Linked DNA regions of Homo sapiens: region 1 is linked to region 2. Evidence: promoter capture Hi-C in human tissues and cell types (Jung and others, 2019). All regions are on one chromosome and are shown on one strand. The core of a region is centred on a gene start or on the middle of the fragment in contact, and the rest is flanking DNA. Distances in the headings are between cores, read along the strand shown. Region 1 has its middle 8.9 kb from the start of OR13F1. Region 2 holds the start of OR13C8 (olfactory receptor family 13 subfamily C member 8).

Region 1 (3,296 bases), core at 45-2,544, 73 kb after region 2:
GTCCACGTTTCTTTTTATGGGAATACCACTCATATTGAATTAGGTCCCACTCTGAAGATTTTATTTTAACTCAATCACTTTAAAAAATTTTTTGGGCTGGGCGCGGTGGCTCACGCCTGTAATCCGAGCACTTTGGGAGGCCGAGGTGGGCGGATCACGAGGTCAGGAGATCGAGAAAATCCTGGCTAACACGGTGAAACCCCGTCTCTACTAAACAAAATACAAAAAATTAGCCGGGCATGGTGGCGGGCGCCTGTAGTCCCAGCTACTCGGGAGGCTGAGGCAGGAGAATGGCAATGGCATGAACCCGGGAGGCGGAGCTTGCAGTGAGCTGAGATCGCGTCACTGCACTCCAGCCTGGGCGACAGAGCGAGACTCCGTCAAAAAAAAAAAAAAAATTTGTAGAGATGGTGTCTTGCTTTGTTGCCCAGGCTGGTCTTGAACTCCCGGCTTCAAGTGGTCCTCCTGCCTTAGCCTTCCAAAATGTTGAGATTCAAAGTGTGAGCTACCATGTCTGGCCTTAATTGCCTCTTTAAAGGCCTTATCTCTAAATACGGTTTTATTCTGAGGGGCAGGAGGTTAGGACTGCAACAAATGAAATTTGGGGGACACTATTCAGTCTACAACAGAGGCATTGGTCGGCACCTGGGTAGCTTACAGTTCTTCAGGAACATACTCAGGGCCTATTATTAAGGCTAGTACCTTGGATGGGGGGAAAGGTTTGAGGTTCTGTGAAGTAATCCGACCACCAAAATCTATACTGATCTTTTCTCTTGGTAATGAGTTTGCTTCCTTGGTGCCAGAGAGCATGGTCCCTTGGTAAGCTTTATGGTACCTTTCTAAAATCAGGACACCAGCAAAGCAGATACTTTAGGCAAGTGTAGTGGTCATTGTTGAAATCTGAATGTACAAAATTGTGGTTTGCACAGCCTTTTCTGCACAGACAGCAAAGAAGGCATTGTCTCATCTCCAGGGAACAAGGACCTCAAGGCCTCGGGCTTTTGATGTCATCCCCTTTTGGCTTTCCAGTATAATTTTTGGTTAGTAAGGGTTCTCTAAGGTTATCACAGAAACTAGAGCAAATACAATCATGTCTAAGAAAAATGTTCAAGGAACAAAGTCAAAGAGGTGGGGCCACAAACTTCATCAAAAGGCGGTTTGCAGTGTGAAGCAGGAACACGGAGCAAAGCCAAGGCGTCTGGAAGTCATGGGACACAAGATCCAACCAACAAAAGATTCAAATCGTCAGACGAAGGCCTATATTGGTGAAAAAAGTAACCATTGGTGGGTGATATTTTGCATATTTTTGGAAGCATAGCAAGCGTGGAATAAATGTATTTAAATTTGACATTTGTGAGCTGTCACTTTAGGTCTGACAGACACTTTAGGTCTGACTCCCTTATATTGTATGATTGCCTATTTTGTGAATTAGGTTTCTTAGCTTTCTTTTTTTTTTTTTTTTTTTGACAGAGTTTCACTCTGTTGCCCAGGCTAAAGTATAGTGGTGCGATCTCAACTCACTGCAACCTCTGCCTTTCTCATTTAAGCGATTCTCCTGCCTCAGCTTCCCAAGTAGCTGGGATTACAGGCATGCACCACCATACCTGGCTAATTTTTGTGTTTTTAGTAGAGATGTGGTTTCACCATGTTGGCCAGGCTGGTCTCAAACTCCTGATAGTCAGCTTTTTTATTACCATTATGGAGGCTGGAATACAGTAACGACTAAGTGGAGATTTGTTAGATGAATAAATAGTTCATCACATAGGTAACATTCCTGCACACAGGCCCAAGGTAACAGGCAAGGAAAGGTTACACTGGCCTTCCCTGTGTACACACAGGGATGCAGCTCTATTTGTGAACCCTACACGACTACAATTTTCTAAGTATAGTTTTAATTGTCCTTGAAAGGATTAAGATACAATTCTTATGTGTCAAGTATACTTCAATAAAGCTTGATGCGGGAAGGGAAGTTTAAATTTAAGATCTCTGATGTTATAATCCCCTATTGCCACTAGATGGTGAAAAAGACTTGCTTGTCTTTGATGGAGCCCACCCTCCCCCTATGAAAAGCTTTCTCAGTGGAGAAAAAAAATGCACTGCTTTGTTTTTTGTTGTTATTAATATTTACAAATATAAACAAGCTTCTTTATATTTTTATTCAAATTATTTTAAAACATAATAAACTGTCGAAGAGAGTTGCTAGTGTCTTACATTGAAGATTAAATACTAAGGCAAAGCTCTGTGCTTAGTACTGAACTGGAGGCTGTGTGGGGAATAGACTAAGTATGGGGTTTCATCCCTGTCCTTGAACTGAAGGACACTTGATGTATGTCTTACATTAATGTGTCAGTCAATGGCTGCCTTGCCTGGCCATTGTTTATGGTAAATATAGATAAGCTGCGACTGAGCCCGGTGGCTCACGCCTGTAATCCCAGCACTTTGGGAGGCTGAGGCAGGTGGATCACGAGGTCAGGAGTTCGAGACCAGCCCGGCCAACATGGTGAAACCCCCGTCTCTACTAAAAAATACAAAATTAGCAGGGCGTGGTGGCACATGCCTGTAATCCCAGCTACTCGGGAGGCTGAGGCTGGAGAATTGCTTGAACCCAGGAGGCTGAGGTTGCGGGGAGCCAAGATCGCGCCATTGCACTGCAGCCTGGGCAACAAGAGCAAAACTCTGCCTCAAAAAAATATAGAGATTTATTTATATCCATATATATCTATATATAGATGGATTTATATCTATATCTATATATAGTTGGATTTTTATCTATATATCTATATATAGTTGGATTTATATCTATATATCTATATATAGAGAGATTCATATCTATATAGATCTATAGCTCCATGGACAGATTTATATCCATATAGATCTATAGCTCCGTGGATAGATTTATATCCATATAGATCTATAGCTCTGTGGATAGATTTATATCTATATAGATCTATAGCTCCATGGATAGATTTATATGTATATAGATCTATAGATCTATGTATAGATAGATTTATATCTATAGATATATAGATATACAAAGATATAAAGATCTATAGATATCTATATTTCAATGGCTATAGATCTATATATAGATAGATTTATATATAGATATGTCTATATATTTATATCTAGATATACCTATATATAGATAGATTTATATCATATATCTATATATAGATAGATTTATATCATATATCTATATATAGATAGATTTATATCTATGTATCTATATATAGATAGACTTATACCTATATATCTATATTATACATAAATCTATCTATCTATAGGATATATAGATA
Region 2 (3,094 bases), core at 293-2,792:
TATTATTTTCCGAAGATTGGAGAGTGATTATTTTCTGCTCAGGCTTCCAAAGAGATTTTCAACATTTATCCATGATAGTATGTTTTAACACCAGGAGCATGTTTTATTTCTATAGTTATATATTTTTAAACAAAAATCTAACAGTAAAAGAGAAAATATTTCTGTTTTGAGACGAAGTCTCGCTCTGTCGCCCAGGCTGGAGTGCAGAGGTGAGATCTCGGCTTGCTGCAACCTCCTCCTTTCCCGTTCAAGCAATTCTCCTGCCTCAGCCTCCCAAGTAGCTGGGACTACATACCCACGTCACCACGCCTGTCTAATTTTTGTATTTTTAGTAGAGACAGGGTTTTGCCATATTGGCCAGGCTGGTCTCGAACTCCTGACCTCAGGTGACCCACCTTCCTTGGCCTCCCAAAGTGCTGGGATTATAGGCATGAGCCACTGTGCCTGGCCCAAAAATATTTCTACCATATGGTTTTGAATGCCACATGGCAAAATTTGTTTTCACATGGTAATTTTATCTTTCTGAATTTTATGTCTGCAGCAGCATTGAATATTAAGTCATGTAGTATAAATCAGTATTCATTTTCCATCAGAAAAGTTTTTCCTACACAGTATGTTTTTGACAGCAGCCTTTACATCCTTGTTTCGCAGACTATAGATGAGAGGATTAAGCATGGGAGTCATCACTCCATAGAAAAGGGAGATGAGGGCCTCAATGATGTCTTCATTACCTGAATCAACAGAGGCTTTAGACTCAGGCTTTGCGTACATGAAGAAGATGGTTCCATAGAATATAATCACCACTGTCAGGTGGGCTGAGCAGGTGGAGAAGGCCTTATGTTTTCCTTCAGTGGAAGGAATCCTCAGAATAGTGGCAACAATAAATATGTAAGAGATGGAAATTACTAACAATGGAATAACCAGAACAATCAGATTCGACCCTGTCATACTAATCACATTGATTGAAATATCAGCACAGGCCAGTTTCAAGATAGCCAGAATTTCACAGACAAAATGTTTAATGACATTATTAGCACAGAATGGTAACTGCATTGCAAAAGCTGTCTGCACTACTGAGTCCACAAGCCCAGTGACCCAGGACCCAGCTGCCATGGCCACATAGGCACCCTTGCTCATGATGACAGGGTATCTCAGTGGGTAGCAGATGGCCACATAGCGGTCCAGTGCCATCGTGCCTAAGATCATGCACTCCGTGGCCCCCATGGCAAAAGAAATAAACATTTGCACCATACACCCAGAGAAGGAAACCTTTTTCTTTACTGCCAGAAAGCTGGCAAGAATTAGTGGGACAGAGGAACTTGTGTAGCAAACGTCGAGGAAGGAAAGATTACAGAGGAAGAAATACATGGGGGTGTGCAGGTGAGAATCAAAGATGATAACTGAGATAAGGACTCCATTTCCAAGCAGGATCATCAGGTACATCCACAAAATTAGAACGAAGAAAACTGTCTGGAGCTTTGGGTGGGCAGAAAGCCCTACCAGGAAAAATTCTGTCGACGTGGAATCGTTGGTCCTTTCCATATTACATATACTGATCTCCAACAGAACTCTGTGAATGATAGAACAGGAATATGTTAATACAGTGTCTGTGAGAGCTACTTTTAAGAATCATATTCTGTATTATTGCAGTTCTGTTTTTGGATGCAACAATATAAGTTTGGGGACAATTTCTTCCTGTAAAACCCAGGCCACTAGAGTAGGAATCCTAACCTGTCTCAGAGTTAAGAGAGAACACATGATTATAGGACCTTTGGATCCCAATCCACTTTATTGCTGTTTCCACAAGTTCTGCCTCTTAACCCATTGGCTGCAAATCAGTGTTCTACAGCCTGGATTCAGCAGACAGGTGTGCTTTGTTTGGCAGTGATTGTCTGCACTGTGTTTAAATTTGAAATAGAGATCAACATTCTTTTTTTTTTTTTTCGACACGGAGTCTCGCTCTGCCGCCCAGTCTGGAGTGCAGTGGCGCCATCTCGGCTCACTGCAGGCTCCGCCTCCCGGGTTCACGCCATTCTCCTGCCTCAGCCTCCCGAGTAGCTGGGATTACAGGCGCCCGCCACCACTCCCAGCTAATTTTGTTTTTGTATATTTAGTAAAGACGGGGTTTCACTGTGTTAGCCAGGATGGTCTCGATCTCCTGACCTCGTGATTTGCCCTCCTCGGCCTCCCAAGGTGCTGGGATTACAGGCGTGAGCCACCGTGCCCGGCCTAGAGATCAACATTCTAATCAACAGATATGGTATAAAAATCTGTGCCTTCAGCTTGTCTTTGAATAAATTAGAATATTTGAAAACTTTAGACCTGTTTCTGTCATGGAGCTTAGTTATATTAATAACTGACCCATTGGATCCAACGCATGTCCCTCCATTCTACCAGACTACAATCCTCACTCTCTTGTCACTGGAGGTGAATATAAGTTATCAATTAACATGTTAGTCTCATGTTATTCTCAATTGTTGGTCTCAATTGTTTATATTACCTGGCAGGATCTTATATGGATTTGGAATCTTGACTTATGGCTGCACGGCCAACTTATCCATTAGGCACAGTACTCCGACCATATTGTGAAAAACCTAGGAAAATGTTTTGATTTCTTTTAAAATATGAAGAAAAACGTTAACTTTAAAGTTTTAATATATACTATATTTGTTTTTGTAACAATGCAGAAGTAAAATATGACTTTTAAATCTTTATGGAAATAAGGCCCCACAAAGGCCAAAAAAAAAAAAAAAAAAAAAGTGCCTAGGGCCCATCAAAATCATAATGTGGCCCTGTGTGGTTGAGCATCTTTTGAAAACTCAGTCTGGTCTACTGGGGTATAGTAGTGGTTATGTATCTGCATATGACCTCTTTGAGGAGAGTAACCTCGTTGAGAAAAGGAACATACCTTCATACTCCTCCAGTATGTTTTTTCAGTACAATGAGGAAGTATTCATTCAAAGAAATGATTTTTAAAAAATTGAATAAATTAAAATTTACAAAGCCAATTTTATCACTGGCTTTGATTAAAATATGTAATGGTGTTTATTGTAGCCTCTACCTAATTTATTTTCAAGCATGCAACAACTAAAGA

Evidence for each region. The method cuts DNA at HindIII sites, captures the fragments that hold promoters and counts their contacts. A contact is called where the count stands out against the background at its distance.
Region 1: a fragment that was not itself captured here is called in contact with the fragment with the promoter of OR13C8 in region 2 in 3 of the 25 tissues and cell types used here (H1 embryonic stem cells, bladder and hippocampus).

What each region holds. Positions count from the first base shown.
Region 1 is chr9:104,493,745-104,497,040 of GRCh38, reverse strand. No RefSeq gene overlaps it. Among named protein-coding and RNA genes, the nearest start is that of OR13F1, 8.9 kb to the left of the region's middle. The HindIII fragment of the contact is 3,801 bases long and covers 1-3,194 here.
Region 2 is chr9:104,567,616-104,570,709 of GRCh38, reverse strand. It overlaps OR13C8 (olfactory receptor family 13 subfamily C member 8), which reads right to left and starts at 1,542. Exons shown (of 1, transcript NM_001004483.1): 1 at 580-1,542. The coding sequence starts at 1,542. The coding sequence ends at 580. All of the region lies in intron 3 of LOC107987105 (a long non-coding RNA gene), which reads left to right. The HindIII fragment of the contact is 8,099 bases long and covers 1-3,094 here.